Linked DNA regions of Homo sapiens: regions 2, 3, 4, 5, 6 and 7 are each linked to region 1. Evidence: promoter capture Hi-C in 16 types of primary human blood cells and fetal thymus (Javierre and others, 2016). All regions are on one chromosome and are shown on one strand. The core of a region is centred on a gene start or on the middle of the fragment in contact, and the rest is flanking DNA. Distances in the headings are between cores, read along the strand shown.

Region 1 (2,603 bases), core at 35-2,534:
GAGATCAAACATAGCTTTCTCAGTATGATTCTGGATCAAAGCAATAGTTACCAAGAGGTGCAAGTGGTCCAGTCAAATCAAAAGTAGACTGGTCAAGAGCCGAAGTCATAGCAGCAGCTTTTTGGGATGCTCAAGGTATTTTGCCTGTTGACTTTCTGGAGGGTGGAAGAGCAATAACATCCGCTTACTATAGGAGAAAGTGAAGCAAAGCTTTAGCATAAAAACACCTACGAAATCTTCACCAGAGAGTCCTTCTCCATCAGGACAATGTTCCTGCTCATTCCTCTCTTTAAATAAGGGCATTTTTCCAGGGATTTCGATGGGAAACTATCAGGTATCCATCTTACATTCCTGACCTGGCTCCTTCTGACATATTTTTGTTTTCTAATCGTGAAAAATCTGTAAATGGCACCCATTTTTCTTCAGTTAATAACGTAAAAAAGCCTGCATTTTCATGATTAAATTCCCAGAACCCTCAATTCTTTACAGATGGACTAAAGAGCCGGTATCATCACTTACCAAACTGTCTTTAACTTGATGGAGCTTACGTTGAAAAACAAAGTTTATATTTTTAAATTTTATCTTTTAATTCCATTTCCCATGAACTTTTATTCTTTTAAAAACAAACCCAAGTATTTTAATTCTACTTGCCTTTTTTACTTATTACACACTTCGGGAGATTTTTTGCCATATGGAATCACCTCATCCCTTGTCACGATTGCATAATATTCCATAGTAGGAATGTTTCATGATTTATTTCTTCATTCCCCCACTGATTTCAATTTTCTGCAACTGCAAGCATTGTTCATAATTCTGTACTGTTTGTGAGCCTATATAGGAGTATCCGTGCACAAACCTTTTTATGCATTGTGCGAGGGTTACTCTGAGATAGACACCAAGGGAACTGCTGGGTCATAAATCCAATTTTTTCAAAGTAAATCCGCTTGCGAACCCGGAACCAAGTCGATTTTTCCCGCCCCGCCAGTTCCCTGTTCAGGAGAGTGCAGCCGTGATTGGCGCGTTCACTCAGGCCAGGGGCGCCCCAGGTCTCAGGTGCTAGGAGCGCGGTGACCTACCACCCTCCGGGCACGCGTTCTGGCCACGCCTCGCGGCCCCTTTCATTGAAAGAGCCCGTAGGGATCACGTGAAAGAACACTGCAGAGTGCGTGACGTCACGACGCTCACACCAATGGGAGCCTCTGTTTATGTCGGGAGCCATCAAATAGTCATCTTCCCCCTACCATCCCCCGCCCACTCTCCGTCGCGCTGCGCTGCGTCGCTTTCAGCCTCTGGTGAAGGGCGGCGCGCTTAGGCAGGCGGTGGCGCGGCTGGAGTGCCGCGGGGAGGGCTGTGCCGGTTGCTTTCTGCAGCCGCATCTCGGCCAGCTCTCCTCGCCGTCCCCGGGGCGCTGTGCGTCTCCAGTCCGGGACCGAAGCCGCCTGCCGTAGCGGGCGGCCAGATCCGCGTCCCGCCTCAGCGGCCGGAGGACATGCGGGAGAGAGAATGAGCCAGAGGGACACGCTGGTGCATCTGTTTGCCGGAGGGTAAGGTCCTGGCGGGGCGTGCGCACTGGGGCTGAGGGTGCTGGGGCCGAAGACGCAGGCGAGGGGGGCGAGGGGGGCCGAGGGGGGTGGGGGGGTGGGGGGGCGGGAGTGAGGCCTGGGCGGGGAGCTGCCACGGGCCTGCGGGTGAGGGGAGCGACCCAGCCCGTGGGTGGTGAGGGGGGCTCCGGTTCGGGGAAGCAAGGGGGTGAGGCCCGGGCCCGAGGGCGAGAGAGTGAGGCCCGGGCAAAGAGGGTTGAGGCATGAAACCCGGGCCGGGAGTGAGGTTTTGGGCCCGCGGGGCCGGGGTGAGGCGGAGGCCGAATCCATGCGTCTGAGGAGACGCGGGCAAGAGCTGGGGTCGGCGCTTGATTACCCGGACGCCGCTGGACCTGGCCGCACGCCGCAATCTAGCAGGCGTCGGGGATCCAGGGCCGCTTTGAGGAGCCTGGCTTCGGATTTCGCGTAGGTTGCATGGCCCAAGGGGACGGGGCGGAAAGTGCGGAGGCTGAGGACAAAATGGGCGCCGGAGACTCCTTTAGCCCTCGCTCCTTGCAGCGCTCGCTTGGGCCTCTGCACGTCACTCACGCCCCACCTCGGACCTCGGGCCGCTCATTTCCGGGCTCGGCTTTGCAAGGTGGGTGGTAAGGGGGCTACGGGATCGAGCGGGGAAGGCTTTGGTATTCTCCCGTGGTTGCTGTAGGGTGTTTCTAGCCCTTGGAAAATTTCTTGCCCGAGGTTTTCCAGGTGGTGAATGGGGTGCAAAGCTTTCCAGTACCTTTGGGGTCAGATTCCTTTCGAGAAAACCACCCCTCTTGAACACCGCTTGCTTTTCTGCTGCTTAGGAGAAAGTAGGAGTGGAGAGAGGTCAGATTTTTTGAAGATAGTGTTAATAGTTACTATGTGTGTGCAAGATTAGGACTAAGCCTAAAGTCTTAGTTCCCTGATTGCCAAAATGAGTGTTAGAGCTTCCAGTTTAGCCTCCTGTTTAGATTTGCTCCTTCTAAATCATTTGGAGAATCATAGCAATTTTAAGAGTTACTTATTTGGAGGATTATAAAG
Region 2 (2,603 bases), core at 74-2,573, 1.8 Mb after region 1:
TAGACAATTCTCAAAAGAAGATACACAAATGGCCAACAAACATATGAAAAAATGCTCAAGATCACTAATGATCAGGGAATTCCAAGTCAAAACTGCTATGCCGTATGTACCACCCTACTTCCGCAAGAATGGCCATAATCAAAAAAATCAAAAAATAATAGCTGTTGGTGTGGATGCGGTGAAAAGGGAACACTTCTACATTACTGGTGGGACTGTAAACTAGTACACCACTATGGAAAACAGTGTGGAGATTCCTTAGAGAACTAAAAGTAGAACTACCATTTGATCCAGTAATCCCACTACTGGGTATCTACCCAGAGGAAAAGAAGTCATTACACGAAAAAGATACTTGCCCATGCATATTTATAGCAGCACAATTCGCAATTGCAAAAATGTGGAGCCAACCCAAATGCCCATGAATCAATGAGTGGATAAAGAAACTGTGATATATATATATATATATATATATGTGGTATATATATATGTGATATATATATAATGATGGAATACTACTCAGCCATAAAAAGGAATGAATAAATGGCATTCGCAGAAACCTGGATGGGACTGGAGACTATTATTCTTATTCTAAATGAAGTAACTCAGGAATGGAAAACCAAACATCGTATGTTCTCACTCACAAGTGAGAGCTAAGCTTTGAGGATGCAAAGGCATAGGAATGACACAATGGACTTTCGGGACTCGGGGAAAGGTTGGGAAGGGGGAGAGGGATAAAAGACTACAAAATTAGGTTCAGTGTATACTGCTCGATGATGGGTACATCAAAATCTCACAAATCATCACTAAAGAACTTACTCATGTAACCAAACACCACCTGTTCCTCAAAAACCTATGGAAATAATATGGAAATAAAAATTTATATATTTGTATAAATTATTTAAACATAATATAATTATATATCTATATATCCTTTATAAATGAGAGTTCATTTCCAGCCTAAAATGAGTACAACATACAAACCCACGAGTCTGGCTCTCCATTGTGCTTTAAAGCATAGTGCACCAGAATATGAAATAGCTGGACAATTCCACAAAGGATTTCGACTAAACATTAAGTCGTCAGAGACTCAATTAACATACTGCTCCATATTTGCTTAATTACCTTAAACCAGTACCCTGGGTGTGGAAAGGGACGATTGAGCGAAGTCTTCCTCAGACTGCGGTTCACCTCACCAGAGCGAAGGAAGCTGCAGCGGGCTCCAGGAGCCCAGTGCGTCCCCACCGCAGGCCCCACCCACCCACGCCCCGCTTGCCGCAGGCCCCGCCCACCCAAGCCCGCCCTTGCCGCAGGCTCCTCCCTAGTGTCGTCGCTACAGAGGAGCAGAGGATGACGTGAGGACAGAGTCGCGAACATCTCCTCGGAGCGCAGCTGGGCCAGCGGTTCCCACAGCCCTGGAGCCCAACGTGCGCAGAAGCGCCTCTTGGAGCTCCTCTCCCACAGATCTCTCGTCCTCTTCCTGGGCTAGGCCGCCCCAGGCGCGGCCCCTGCGACTCCTGGCACGGCCCCGTGCTCGGCTGCCGCCCTGGCGCGCGCCACACTGTCGTCCCCGGACGGGCGCGGACCGGCTCGGCCGGGGCGCCGGCGGCTGGGGAGGGGTCGCTGGCCCCGGGGCCGCGCATGCGCCGCCACCAACTTGGGGCTGTCAGTGGAGGGCGAGTGCTGGTTCTCAGGGGAGGCGACGCCCTTCGGGGCCAACGGGCCTCGAGCCGAGGCAGCAGTGGGAACGACTCATCCTTTTTCCAGCCCTGGGGCGTGGCTGGGGTCGGGGTCGGGGTCGGGGCCGGTGGGGGCCCCGCCCCCGTCTCCTGGCCTGCCCCCTTCATGGGCCGCGATGATGGCGGCCCTGTACCCGAGCACGGACCTCTCGGGCGCCTCCTCCTCCTCCCTGCCTTCCTCTCCATCCTCTTCCTCGCCGAACGAGGTGATGGCGCTGAAGGATGTGCGGGAGGTGAAGGAGGAGAATACGCTGAATGAGAAGCTTTTCTTGCTGGCGTGCGACAAGGGTGAGAGTTAGGCCCCTTTCTCCTCTGGACGCCCCTGTCCTCCAGACCTTTAGTCCTCTCCCCCGCCTCAACTTATATCGGGGCATTCCCTCTGTCTCAGGCGCCGAGTGTCTTCCCGCCTCGCCTGCTGCCTCAGGCGGTCTTCTCCTCACCGCCTCTGCCCTGTGAGTGTGGAGCTGGCGGGAGAGTGGAGCTGGGGCTGCGCCCTCGGAGCGCTGCACCGTCGGGGGTGGCTCTGGCCTTGGGGTCCGGGGTTTAGGTAGCGCCTTGGGAGCCCCGACCCCAGCGTTTTAGCGCCGCCCTTGCTACTGACCGCATGAATGACCTGGTCTTCTCTCTGGCTCGCAGTTCATTCCTTCCGGGAGTCGAGAGGCTAGTTTCCGACACTCCAGTCGGAAAATTCCGTCACCTTACCTTAGGATGCCTCGTATGGAGGGTTCTCATCACCTGGTTTTTGTTTTTCTTAAAAACAAAACCAGACCCTCTATTATTTAGCTTCACCTGACCAGTGCTTTAGCCAGTGACTGTTGACTGGCATTAATAACGGAATATCCTAGGTGGAGATACATGAAGTAAGGACGG
Region 3 (2,603 bases), core at 41-2,540, 1.6 Mb after region 1:
TACACAAGTTCTCATTCCATCTGCTAGAAACTATATGACCTCAGTAAAGTTACTTAATCTCTTAATACTTCCATTTTTTCATTTATAAAATGGGATTAATAATGTCTACCTCACAAGATTACAGCAAAGATTAAATAAGAGGGGGTAAAGTCATAAAGTGGAATATAATTTCATAGTTAAAATGAATGAATTATACTACCTATACCAACGATGAATCCTGAAAACTACATTGATTGAAAAAGCAAATTCAAAGGTATACATAATAGTGTCATATCATTTATATACAATCTTAAAACCACAAAACAATGCGTTGTGTGAGTTATGTATACAAATATGTTTGATAAAAGTATGAAAACATGTTTGGCAAAGATAGATATCAACTCCAGGATAGTTGCACCTGTGGAAGGGAGAGAAGGGAATGAAATGATGAAGCTTCAATGTATCCCTAAGGGTTTTCTTTTAGTAGGATTTGAATTAATTATTATTTAATCAAAATTTAATGTTATATTTGGGTGGATGTTATATTACTATTTGTATCTGCATAGCCAGGATATTCCAACATGTATTAAAAAAAATAGCTCCTTCCCGTCTTGTAAGATGGTGGGGGAAAAAGTTGAGAAGCCAGACACCAAGGAGAAGAAACGTGAAGCCAAGAAGGCTGATGCTAGTGGCAAGGTTAAAACATAACTTCGGTTGGGCACGGTGGCTCACGCCTGTAATCCCAGCACTTTGGGAGGCTGAGGCAGGCGGATCACCTGAGGTCAGGAATTCAAGACCAGCCTGGCTAACATGGTGAAACTCCATTTCTACTAAAAATACAAAAAATTAGCTGGGTGTGCTGGTGGGCGCCCGTAATCTCAGCTATTCGGAAGGCTGAGGCAGGAGAATCGCTTGACCCCGAGAGGCGGAGGTTGCAGTGAGCCGAGATTGCATCATTGCATTCCAGCTTGGGCAACAAGAGCGAAACTCCGTCAAAAAACACAAACAAAAACACCTCAAGGCTAAAAAGCCAAAGAAAGGGAAGCCCCCCTGCAGCGGAAATCCTGTCCTTATCAGAGGAATTGGCAGATATTCTCAATCTGCTATGTCAAAAAGGCCAGGTACAAGAGGAAGTACTCGGGTACTAAATCCAGAATTAAAAAGAAGAAAGTCCAGACTTGAAAAAGGAAAAGGTTCTTGCCATTGCTACAAAACCAGTTGGTGGCAACAAGAATGGTGATACTTTTTGCAAAGTAAACCCTACAAAATGCCTAGATCCTTCCAAAGATGTGCCTGGAAAGCTGCTGTTGAGCCACAGAAAAAACAAACAGAAACACTTCAGTCAGCACAGAGAAAACTGCAAACTAGCTTCTCTCCTGGGATCATTCTGCTTATCCTCACTGGGCACCACAAAGGCAAGAGGGTGGTTTTACTGGAGCAGCTGAGGAGTGGCTTGTTAATTGTGACTGGACCTCTGGTCCTCATTCACATTCTGTGGGAAACACACCAGAGGTCATCACAAAATTGAAATCAGCAATGTGAAAATTCCAAAACATCTTACCAATGCTTGCTTAAGAAGATGATGCTATGGAAGCCCAAATACTGGGAAAGTGACATCGTCAACACAGAAAGAGAGTAATAGAAGATTATGGAGCAATGCAAGGTTGATCAGAAAGCTGTGGACTCGTGGCCAAGCACGCTAGCTCACTCCTGTTACCCCAGCACTTTGGGAGCCTGAGGCGGGTGGATCACTTGAGGTCAGGAGTTCGACACCAGCCTGCCAACATGGTGAAACCCCATCTCTACTAAAAATACAAAAATTAGCCTGGCGTGGTGGCGGGCATCTGTAATCCCAGCTGCTGGGGAGGCTGAGGCAGGAGAACCACTTGATCCCGGGAAGCAGAGTTTGCAGTGAGCAGAGATCGCACCACTGCACTCTAGCCTGGGTGACAGAGCAAGACTCCATCTCAAAAAAAAAAAAAAAAAATTAGAAAGTTGTGGACTCGTAAATGTTACCAAAAATCAAAGCTATTCCTTAGCTCCAGGGCTACCTGTAATCTGTGTTTGCTCTGATGAATGGAGTTTATCCTAGCAAATAGGTGTTCTAAATGTCTTACCAAGAACCTAATTAAATAACTGATGCATTTAAAAACTAAAATAAGTATACTTTTAAGCTTAAATAACACATCTGAAAAATAGTTTAAAAATACCAAATTTTAGCTATTTTTAGAACATATGAAGAAAGATTATAAAAATTAGAATGCTATCTGGAAGGCAATAGCTAAATAGCATGGTAATTCTAAAAAGCAGTATAAATTTGCAAGCCTTATAAATAATAGAGCCTCAGAAATCCCATTTAATTCAAAAAGTCATTTTGGGCAAGATATTGGGTTAGGTACTTCTGTGACAGACACAAAAATGAGGAAGATGAAGTTAGTTTCAGCGGGGCATAGTGGCTAACACTTGTAGTCCCAGCTACTTGAGAGGCTGAGGTAGGAGGATGGCTTGAGCCAAGGAAGCCAGGGTTACAGTAAGCCACAATCTCGCCACTACATTCCAGCCTGAGCAACAGAGCCAAATCCTGTCTCAGAGGAAAAAAAAAAAGTTAATTTCAGGTAATGTAC
Region 4 (2,603 bases), core at 104-2,603, 1.6 Mb before region 1:
CAAGCCAGTGGTGCCCAGCAGAATACCATGGTGTCTTATTTTTTCTTCTATTTTAATTTCATTTTTTTTCTGTGCAAGTTTTATGATGTGGACAATATGTTTCAGAATTCAGGATTTTTTGGATTTTCGAAAGGTGATACAGTATGTATACTATGTATTACCTTACATCCTCAGCATGAAAAAGCCACAAACATTAATACTGCAATAACTTACATAGGAATGTTAAATGCAATAAAAATGTACCAAGTTGGTATAAAAGCAACTAAAAATACTAAAGCAGTTCAGCTCAGGTCTTGCCATCAAAACAGTTATAACTGTTTTCAGAATATTTTTGGATTTTTGAATTATGGATAAGGAATAGGGTCTATTCTTACAGGTATATAAATTCATAAATACATTCACATACATACAATGGGGTGCACGTTCAAAGTTATATGGCGAAGTATGGGATTGTAAAAAAAAAAAAAAATCAGTATGTAGGAGAAGGTTAAAGAATACTTTCGGGCTGGGCGTGGTGGCTCACACCTATAATCCCAGCACTTTGGGAGGACGAGGCAGGCGGATCATTTGAGGTCAGGAGTTTGAGACCAGCCTGGCCAACATGGTGAGACCCCATCTCTATTAAAAACACAAGCCGGGTGTGGTGGCGCATGCCTGTAATCCCAGCTACTTGGGAGGCTAAGGCAGGAGAAGGGCTTGAACGAGGGAGACAGAGGCTGCAATTAGCCGAGATCATGCCACTGCACTCCAGCCTGGGCAACAGAGTGAGATTCCATCTCAAAAAAAAAAAAAAAAAAAGGAAAGAATACTTTTGTGTTTTATTTCATAATACTGCCAACTAATGTCCAAATGATTTGGTTTATGCTAACTCGGTTAGACTTAAAAATATGAGACATCTTTATGCTTTATAGTGGGCTCAAATCTACAAGTAAGTGGCATACTTATCCCCTTTTGTTCTTGCCATAAATGGATCAAAGTTATCCAATTTGGGTAAAATCACCTGCCCTTCAGGTACCTACTAGAGCAGCTCAATAGCCTCCTGCAATCATAAAATAAAATGCTTCCACCATTAACTGGCAGGGCTGTTGAAGAAGGTGTTTAACATTTCTCCCACTTGAGCCTCCCTGAACAGCTCATTTAGCTCAAACATTTAGATAGATGTGCTAAGGGCATCCCTTGCTGAAGGTGAGTGCCACCAAGGCAGCACTGTCCTGTTCTGACTGCCCCGTCTATTCAACACCATTTGGCCATTCATCAGTTCTCTCCAGGGTTCATTCTTCACTTCCCTCTCCAAAAACCATCCTCAGTGTAGAATTAATTAATCTTTTAAATTAATACTCACTTGCCCTGTAAAAAGTAGCTCATGAATGCCACATTATTTTTGCCATCTCTCTCCGCACCCTCTGCTAGCTTGTTCACCATATTAGCATTTCCAGAGGCAGTGGCCAAAAGCAGCAGGCCCCCATAATCCTGTGCATGATGCAGGCACTCCTGGGCTAGGCCAAACTGACATTTACTAATGGCAAGTTCAGCAAGTTGTTTCCACTTCTGTTCTGACTGTAAGAAAAGAGTTTCCAAGTTAAAATATCTTTAGAAATAAGCATTTACATTTCCAACATTATTCTGTTAACTGTGCAGACAATGTTTATAAAAAGAGCTGTGTTTGTTAAGTTGGCTCTATCAAAATAAGAATGGCATTGCAAAATGTACAGTGAGGAAATGGAAATTATTAATGTATACAAAATGAATTTAAACACAAATCAATTTTAATGATGTGCAAATAATTATCGTCAACCCATTATACTTTTATCTTATAATTACACAGGGAAAGTAAAACCATCTCACTGGAGTTTTAAGGCAATTAGACTGCAATTATTTTAACAAGTGATTTAATATCACTTTTTTGAAAGCATACAAAACTACGTCTTTAAATATTTCACAATAATATTATGTCTCACTTGTAGCTTTTCAGAACTCAAAATGCTGCATGTTTAGATGATCTTAACGTAGCTAAAATTTATTTTGCACATCTGAAATTAATTTACCAGTAAATGCCAGTCTGAAACAATTGGGAGCCTCAATATACAAAGATCTATAAAAATATCATTACAAAAATGGTATTAACATTTCTCCCACTTGAGCCTCCCTGAACAGCTCATTTAGCTCAAACATTTAGACCAGATGTGCTAAGAGCATCTGCTGCTGAAGGTGAGTGCCACCAAGGCAGCACTGTCCTTCTCTGACTGCCTGCTCTATTCAACACCAAAAGATGAGGGGGTTGGGCTGTCTTTCAAAACCAACATATTTTTAGTTAGTTTCAGACATTGGCAAATAACTGCTATGTCTGTACTCTTAGGCTTTCCAGACTAGTTTACATACTATTTTACATCTTTTCTTATCTTGCAAAATAGAGCTCACATAAGATATGAAAACAATTTTTCTTAAAACAAATTAGAGTGCTAAGAATATCTCCAATGTAATCAATTTAACTTATGCAAAGTTTAACATAATACATCTTTTAAAAAGATAAGAGAGAGACAATAACTTCAACAAAATGAGCCACTAATTTGCATTTGGGAAAACTTTAATAACAAAACATTACA
Region 5 (2,603 bases), core at 29-2,528, 1.5 Mb after region 1:
AATAACTTTGTATGTAATTTGATCTCAATACCTTTCTGTAGCTCATTTTTATGTGAATTTAATTTTCTTGAACTTTTAGAATGAGTAGAGGTTCAGGGAATATAAGTTCACAAAGCTGTTTCTGGGTAGTGTTAAAAAATACAGTGGTTTGCTTTGTGGTTTGTTTTCTAAGATTTCTTGATTCTATGACTTTGCCTCACTTTTATATGGTCTATCTCCTTCTCTTCTTGTCTCTATTGTCCCTTTCATAAAATTTTATTCCACTTCCAGCATAACATTTCCGTAAGACTTTATTCCACTCCCTTTTCCTTAGGGCTCTGGTCTAGAATGGCACCTTGGCAAGTCAGTTTTGAGTGTTCACAGGAGGTAGACTACTCCTGCCTGTTTGGTCTTTCTTATGGTAGACCTTCACCCAGTCAATAATGGAGTGAATAAAACTCCTCTGTTTCAGCTACCGCTATCTAATTGGCCAGCACAGTCTTTTAGTGGATACCGCTGGCTATTCTGGAATTCTGTTCTAAGGTTCATCAGATGTTGCCCCATTGCTTCCTTCTCGCTTTTGCACAGATGGCAATATCAACGGTGTCTAGAGACTATTGATAGTTTGCCTCACCTAGTTATGTTTTGAGTTTCATGGGGATAGCATGTCACATGGTTTGTTGTAATTGTTTTATGGATTTTAAACTTTGGTTTCTAGTTTCTCTTTCTGTTTTTACAAGATGATTCAGAGAAACTGAAAACCTATGCTACTGAGGCCACACCACTGACTTCCCGTAACTTACTTCTTCTCCCTATCCTTCCCGCCCAGGACTAGCTTTTGAATGCCTGTGACTTATTTAGGCATTACCATCTTTAAGTTCTACTTAACAGAGAAGCTGATAACCTTTGGTCTCTTTTTAATCAAACATTTTTGAAAGGTATCACAACAATGAACCAAATTTTAAAATTTATTTACAGTGAAATTTAAAAATAATTCTCCTCCCAGTTTCTATATAAAGCTTTCACAAAACCTATCCTTAGTGTCCATGTCATAAAACTGCATTAAAGAGATTTTCATTCTTCAGTAACAAAATTCCTCAGGATGGAGAGAATCTAAGATATTTTCACCAAACCAAATTCTGTGCCACAGACTACAGAATAAAAATATTACTGAACAAATTATGTATTAAATCATCACGAATAACAATCGCATTATTTTTGCACTTTAGAGATAAAGTGACTGATATATAGCAGGTACTGACTGAAGGATGCAAGAAAAGCCAAAGTTGGTTGTCTCCATTTCTGCAATGTACTGGTTTCCTTTTTAGCCCTCCCCGGGGGAAAAAAATACCTCTCTAAACCTAACTCAATCTATGTTTCAAATAAATTCAAGATAAGCTAACCTTGGAAACTTTTTGTAGTCTATTTCTCATCTACCAAATCTGATTGGAATCCAGCAACAAAAACTCCTTTCCAGAAGTAAACTACCTTCATGTTCGTAAATGCCGATTAAACCATAATTTAATAGGCTATTTACAATACTACCCATCACAACTGATTCAATCAGCTACACAAATTTCAAGCTTTTTTTCTGTAAAGCATCAGAAAAGAGATCAAATTCATTAAATGTGACAAACACCAAAGTATCACCCAAAGTCTAGTTTACCTAATAGACGACTGCTTTCTCCTCTCTTTCCACAGTTCCAATATATAAACTACGTTTTCGGAATCTACACATTAACGTTGTCCTGGGGTCAGTACATGCCAAATATTATTAGTAGTATTAATGTTCTATCAATTCGTTTCCCAACCCCCTCTGTCACACAGTGAGGCCTCCAAATAAAAGGTCCTACGCCCCACTCCCCAGCTGGCCCAAGAGTTTTTTGTTTTGGCAACAGGGGATTGGTGCTGCTTTTGAAATAACAGAAAGTAACAAAAGGCATCACCAATATGACCATCAGCCACGTCGGAAAGTCTAGGCTCCGGGGGCCGGGTGGGCCGCGCTCTAGATCAGGGAAAGTAAACAAGGTGACTGCGTGCGGAAGCGGCTGTTATCGTCTGTAAGTGGGTCTGCCGCTCTGGGTGGGATGGGGGAACCTACGAGGACACCCACTCCAGCTTCGCAGCCTCTGTAAGGAAAAAGGCAACTTGCAGCTCCCCGGGAGGAAACCGGAGAACAGTAAAAGCGTTCTTTCCCAGGACTTCATTTCGGAGTCGCGGAAGGACCAGCAGAAGCAAGAGCTGTCAGAGAAGCCGTGAACCCAGCGGCTCTGTCCACACACAGGCAACCTGCGTCCTTAGCCCCTTTCGGCTCATCCGGGCGTCCTCAAACCTTCCGTCCCCCTCCCTAATGCCACTAATCGTCCAGACGACGAGGGGAAAGAGGTGGCTCGAAAGCCCCAGCTCTAAGGTGGAGAGGGCCGCGGAGCCCCGGGTCCTCGGCTTTCTGAGCCGTTGCCCCTCGCTCACCCACCTGATGCTCTTTCACCACTTCGCTGAGACAGGGATACCGCTCTGAGATCCATCTGTAAAACTTGGGGACTCCCATTTCGATCGTCAACACTAATCCCAGTCAGGGCCAAACCGAAACCAAACGCCCCGCCGGGGCTCCGCCGCAGCCTCCG
Region 6 (2,603 bases), core at 51-2,550, 1.5 Mb before region 1:
TTGTTTAAAAGAGCCCAGAACCTCCACCTGACTGTTTCTTGCTCTCTTTCTTGCCATGTGACATCACTGGCTCCCCCTTTGCCTTGTGCAATGATTATAACCTTCCTGAGGCCCTTATTGGAGGTAGATGCCAGAGCCATACTCGTACAGCCTGCACAACTGTGAGTCAATTAAACCTCTTTTCTTTATAAATTACCCAGTCCCAGGTACTTATAGCAATGCAAAAACTATCTAACACTCCTGGTTTCAAATGATTGGGAAGAAATGGGATTAGAGGTCTCTGAAGATGCCAGGGCTCTGGAGATTGCTGGGGGAAGGATAGCCCTGTCCCTGTCAGGGGCCGCCTCCTGTGTGGAGGGCCTTAGGGCTCTGGAGAGAGAACCCCTGTGTTCAAATTCTGCCTCTGCTACTTACCAAATATGGGACTTTGAGTATTTCACCTGGTCTGAATGGGCACCTACATCCTAGTCCTGGAAACAGCTCAAATAGGGACAGAGGAGGTGCTTAACAAAGGATTAAGCCTACAACCTGGATCTATTCCTTGCCTTGAAGACCAGTTGAGGGCCCAGGATGAGCCTCCTGTGGGTGCACTAGCTCTGCTTTAATTGCCTAGTTCTAAAATGAATCTTCCTTTGCATTGGAGAAAAAAACAACAGAGGCTACAGAAAGCCCCTGGGGTCTGTCTCAGCTGCTATTGCTCTGACTGTGGTCTGTGAACCCTGGGTAGGCAAGACATAGCTCCCACCTGTTCCTCTTTTCATCTCTTGCTGGTGAGGAGCAGGTGTTCTTTCCAAGCTTCTCCTATCTCTCTCCCCTCTTCTTACTTGTTCCAGTCTTTCTCCCTCCTCTTCCCTCTCCTCTTCTTTCTTCTTCCTTTGCCTTATCCTCTTCCCTGCTTTCCTCTCTCCCATTCTTTCCCCCTCCTCTGCTCTTTTCTCCTCTCTCTTTCTCTCCTCTCCCTTCCTCTTCCCTCTGCCTTCCTCTTCACTTCCCTTTCCTCCTACCCTTTCCCCTCCTTTCCCATCTTCTCTCCTCCTCTACCCCCTCATCCCTTCCTCTTCACCTCTCCCCTCTGTTTCCCTTCCTCTCCCTGCAACATTCTCTCCTCTCCTCCTTCCTCCTTTCTCTTCTTCCTCATTCTCCCCTCCTGTCCCTTCTGTAGCTCCCCTTATCCCTTGTGGCATCAGCATCTCCCAGCCTCAAAACTGGCAGTCACTGTTTCATCAGCTCTGGCCCCAGCCAAAACCTCCCTCCCTTCTCAGCCAGCAGCAGCTGCTGGACTCTTGAAGGGGGTAACAATTAGTCATTGGAGGGTGGCAGTGGTTGAGGGAGACAGAGCGTGCCAGCCTTTGCAGTCATTGCTCTGTCACCTCATGTACAACAGGCTTAACTCAACACGTGATCTTCCCTTTGGCACCCCCCTCTCCCTCTGCCACTGCTGAGCTGTGTTGTGTGTATTTGTCCTCCCTCGTCCCCACACCCACAACCATCTTTATGCCCTCACCTCCTCTGTGAGCTTTATGCAGCCCTGCCTAGTGTGGCAGCTCCTTAAAGCACCTCTCTTGTTCTTCCCTTCCTTCCTGTGACCACTCCCTATCCCTAATATGGGTCCCTCACTGCTTCTCCCCTGAAATACTTGATCCTGGGTTCCTCTCCCCACCTTCATCTGTCCTGTCAACAATGACTGGAGTGCATTCCTGGTTCATGTCCTCCTAGGGATGAAAAAGAGTGACATCTTTCCTCCCCACCACACTCCTAGAACAAAAGATAGGTTAACAAGAGAAAAGCATAACACATTTATTTAATCAAGCTTTTATGTGATATGGGAGACTTCAAAAATGAAGACCCCAAGACCCAGGGGAAACTGTTTTTATGCTTAGGTTTGATGAAGAGTGGACAGCCATGTACTCTTTTTGTATTGGACAAAAGGGGTATAATCCAGTAGTAATAGACTGAATGGGAAAACCCAGCAAGGCCTGTCTGTTCAGATTCTTCTTGGCCTCTCTGTTGTAGCATTTCTTCCTTCTGGGTATGATGCAGGACCCCTCTGCAATGAGGGCCTTAGGATCTAATATCAGATAAGGGTAGGTCAGAGAATTTCTTTTTGGCCACCTCCTAGACAGAAGGGGATGGGGAGGTCAGAGTAGTATTTCCAGGGTTCATGGCTTACTTTGGGGGAGAGGGGTTCCAGTTTTTATGACCCACCTAGGGTACAAGGAATTATGTTTCTATGACTTGCTTTGAGGGAGAAATGAGGGGTGAGAGATAGGAAGCAGGAAGTCAAAGAGACCATGGTTCTGAGGTTGCTTCTGAGGTCTTCCAATGTCCTTTAGTTCAAAGTACTCAGCACACCAAAGTGCTATACTTTGGGGTATCATTTTCTGAGCTGCAGAATCCCAGATACATCACTCTCCTCAGAAGCTCTGGCTCTCCTGGTGCACTGACTGAGACCAAACAAGTGTTCATGACCTACCCAAGCCTGAGAGAACAGCCCTCCAGATCCTGGTCCTCCTGCCTTCCACCATGGGCAAGAACCCCCACCCCACCTCTCCCCAACCCTCCTTGCCTTTTTCTGCTTCCCGCCTTTGCTTGTGCTGGTTCCT
Region 7 (2,603 bases), core at 61-2,560, 1.4 Mb before region 1:
TTTTATATCTATCTATCTATCTACATGTTTCTGTTTTATACAAAATTAGGATTGCATCATTTATGGTTTCATATCCTCATTTCTTCATTTAATTGAAGCAACTTCCCATTTCAACAAATATTCTCCATAAGCATTATTTTAATTGCTACGTAATATTCTAGGAAGTAGCTACATAGTGTGTGTGTGGTCCACCACAAAATGAAAATGAGGGATTCTTTGCTCAAAATCATTAAGATTTTTAAGCTGGTGACAGCAGAGCATTAAACCAAGTGAGGGGCTTTCTGAGCCTGGGGCCCTGATGGACTGCCTTTGTCACAGGCCCACAAAACAGTCCCTGATAGTATTTGATTGTACATACATACTGTTATTTAGCCAATTACCTATTTTGGACATTTAAGTTATTTATTTATAATTCTGTGCTACTATAAATAAGACTTCTTTGTATACATAGTTTTGAACACATTGTTCCCTTAGAAGAAATTTCCAGAGGAGGAATTGTTGCATCAAAGAGTGTGCATATTTGTAAAGCTTTTGATGAGTATTGCCAACTTTATCTCCAGAAAGCTCACACCTATTTACCTTCCAACACCAGGGTCAGAGAATGACCATGAGAGAGATGTTTATTAATGGTAAAGCATGCTTTTGCTCCTGGGGCTACTGTGTTACCATTTCCAGATCGCTGGCATCTTTTAACAGGGGCCATCTGGATATAAACAATAATAATACCTTAGCCCAAAAGAATGACAGATGGCAGAATTTCAGGCAGCTTGACAGATTGAGGGATAGAGAGAGCAGAAGTCTGTTGGGGTGTAGAGGAGCCTTTCTGAGAGCCCTACAAACCAGGCTTCTTAAAGGGAAGGATCCCTATCACATGCATACTGCATCAGTCTCCCAGAAAGCCTTTCTTAACCCCAAGCTTCTGTTGACTCTGATACTGGACAAAGCAGAGATTATTTTCTTTGACCTCAGGTGATCCACCTGCCTTGGCCTCCTAAAGTGCTAGGAGTTGGACAAAGCAGAGATTATTCTTGTCTGTATTGGATGTAGAGGGGTGGCTGAGCTCAGAGAGGTTCCATGACTTTCTCTGGTCACCTAGTAAATGAGAGAAAGAATCTGGGCTGGAGCACGGGCTTTGCATGACTTGGTGCCCACTTGTTTCCCAGTCTAGGGCAGGGCACCTGCCAGGTGCCCACGAGATGGTGGCTAAAATCATTGGGGGCTGCAGAAAAACACATGGACATTGTGCTAAGACTCCGAGCAGACTCCTGGAGGAACACCCTTAAGTTCATTCCAACCATTGTGGGGGTATGGGTGCTGGGAGTCAGAAAGAGGTCTTAAAGATTTCTGCCTGTAGAGGTCCCCACAGAGAAGTGCCCAGGCTGTCATGGCCTCAAAGGAGTTTCTAAAAATGGGAGGGGCATTCTAGGCAGAGTGAAAAAGGATGAAAGGGGTAGGAGGTGATGAGGGAGAAATGACAACAAGCCAGTGTTGTAGAAGACTATCCTGGAGTTAAGGAGAGGAGGAACAAGGTTGTTGGGGGGTGGTGGGGAGATGGGGCCAGAATATCAGACTGAAAAACCCAGACTGTGGCCTGGAGCATGTTTTCAGTGCCTGTCTTTGCTGCCTGTGCTGTTGGGTAGAACCATCCAGGCGGGCAGGTGGGCCAGGGAATTGGTCAGGTTGTACTCTGGGTTAAAGAATCCTGGAAGCTTACTGGCCATTTATACTTGGCTCCTGGTCCCTGCCCGCCTCCTACTATACCACCTCAACCTATATCAGGTTGACTTAGTATGGGCAGCAAAGAACATGGTATCAGAGAGAGCTGGGTCCTCTGTTCCTGACTATGTTGGATGACATTGGGCAACTGGATTAACCTCTCTGAGTCTCTGTGCCCTCAACTGCAAAAGAAGGCTAAACGATACCTACTGTGGTAGACTCTTCCACTGGTGACTCCCGAGTCTCATGATATTCAAACCCCTGTGAAGTCTCTTCCTACATCGGCTTGGTTTGGCCACGTGACTAGCTCTGGCTAGTGAGACATGAACAAGCATGATGGAAGTAGTGCCTTTATAAACACTTGTATGCTGGGGGCTTGTCCTCTTGGAATCTTCCCCTCTTGAAACCCAGCTGCTATATGTTAAGGCAGTCCAGGATATTCTGCCAAAGAGAAAGGGCACAAGGAGAAGCCCTGGAGGATGGGAAAGAAGCCACTTGGAGAAGAGCTGAGGCGCCCCAACTGAGCTTTCAGCTGAACACAGCCACAGGCAGCTGAACTGCACAATTAACCAACAGAATCATGAGAATATAAGGTTGTTGTTTTAACCTATTAAGTTTTGGGCTGGTTACATGGCATTAGATAAACAAAGCACCTACTTCACCAGGTTGTTCTGAGGATTTGAGAAAATATACAGAAAATGCATAGGGCTGGCATATAGGAGGCACTAGGTAATGGTAATCATGATGCCCAGAGCTTAGATAAAGATGGGTTTCCTTGTCAATGTTGAACAATAATGAAAGCCTTTTTTTTAAGAGTTGGAGATTTGTGAAGCAGTGACTGACATGCTATTCATCATGGCCAAGGTTTTGGAAGCTCCTTCTCTTTC

What was found. Contacts are between HindIII fragments. The CHiCAGO score rates a contact against its expected background, and 5 or more counts as called.
Region 2: a contact is called between the fragment with the promoter of TRPC1 here and the fragment with the promoter of SLC25A36 in region 1, in 1 of 17 cell types (fetal thymus). The highest score is 8.7, in fetal thymus.
Region 3: a contact is called between a fragment that was not itself captured here and the fragment with the promoter of SLC25A36 in region 1, in 1 of 17 cell types (non-activated CD4 T cells). The highest score is 5.6, in non-activated CD4 T cells.
Region 4: a contact is called between a fragment that was not itself captured here and the fragment with the promoter of SLC25A36 in region 1, in 1 of 17 cell types (naive B cells). The highest score is 5.3, in naive B cells.
Region 5: a fragment that was not itself captured here is called in contact with the fragment with the promoter of SLC25A36 in region 1 in 3 of 17 cell types (fetal thymus, total CD4 T cells and non-activated CD4 T cells); the score reaches 6.8 in fetal thymus.
Region 6: a contact is called between a fragment that was not itself captured here and the fragment with the promoter of SLC25A36 in region 1, in 1 of 17 cell types (M2 macrophages). The highest score is 5.5, in M2 macrophages.
Region 7: a fragment that was not itself captured here is called in contact with the fragment with the promoter of SLC25A36 in region 1 in 1 of 17 cell types (M0 macrophages); the score reaches 5.2 in M0 macrophages.

Annotation. Positions count from the first base shown.
Region 1 is chr3:140,940,552-140,943,154 of GRCh38, forward strand. It overlaps SLC25A36 (solute carrier family 25 member 36), which reads left to right and starts at 1,285. Exons shown (of 7, transcript NM_001104647.3): 1 at 1,285-1,544. The coding sequence starts at 1,504. RefSeq lists enhancers at 1,259-1,628, 1,722-2,569, 2,209-2,438. The HindIII fragment of the contact is 2,098 bases long and covers 209-2,306 here.
Region 2 is chr3:142,722,711-142,725,313 of GRCh38, forward strand. It overlaps TRPC1 (transient receptor potential cation channel subfamily C member 1), which reads left to right and starts at 1,324. Exons shown (of 13, transcript NM_001251845.2): 1 at 1,324-2,021. The coding sequence starts at 1,850. RefSeq lists a silencer at 1,568-1,617 and an enhancer at 1,876-2,603. The HindIII fragment of the contact is 1,344 bases long and covers 651-1,994 here.
Region 3 is chr3:142,580,313-142,582,915 of GRCh38, forward strand. It overlaps the pseudogene RPL6P9. Among named protein-coding and RNA genes, the nearest start is that of ATR, 2.9 kb to the left of the region's middle. The HindIII fragment of the contact is 1,721 bases long and covers 431-2,151 here.
Region 4 is chr3:139,359,739-139,362,341 of GRCh38, forward strand. It overlaps COPB2 (coat protein complex I subunit beta 2), which reads right to left. Exons shown (of 22, transcript NM_004766.3): 17 at 1,343-1,557. Among named protein-coding and RNA genes, the nearest start is that of MRPS22, 17 kb to the left of the region's middle. The HindIII fragment of the contact is 4,235 bases long and covers 1-2,603 here.
Region 5 is chr3:142,445,418-142,448,020 of GRCh38, forward strand. XRN1 (5'-3' exoribonuclease 1) reads right to left here. Exons shown (of 41, transcript NM_001282857.2): 1 at 2,453-2,603. The coding sequence starts at 2,527. Among named protein-coding and RNA genes, the nearest start is that of XRN1, 1.3 kb to the right of the region's middle. RefSeq lists enhancers at 446-805, 2,338-2,603. The HindIII fragment of the contact is 564 bases long and covers 997-1,560 here.
Region 6 is chr3:139,446,971-139,449,573 of GRCh38, forward strand. All of the region lies in intron 3 of COPB2-DT (COPB2 divergent transcript), which reads left to right. Among named protein-coding and RNA genes, the nearest start is that of RBP2, 28 kb to the right of the region's middle. The HindIII fragment of the contact is 1,015 bases long and covers 794-1,808 here.
Region 7 is chr3:139,521,275-139,523,877 of GRCh38, forward strand. All of the region lies in intron 2 of RBP1 (retinol binding protein 1), which reads right to left. The region is part of intron 3 of COPB2-DT (COPB2 divergent transcript); the gene reads left to right. Among named protein-coding and RNA genes, the nearest start is that of RBP1, 17 kb to the right of the region's middle. The HindIII fragment of the contact is 793 bases long and covers 915-1,707 here.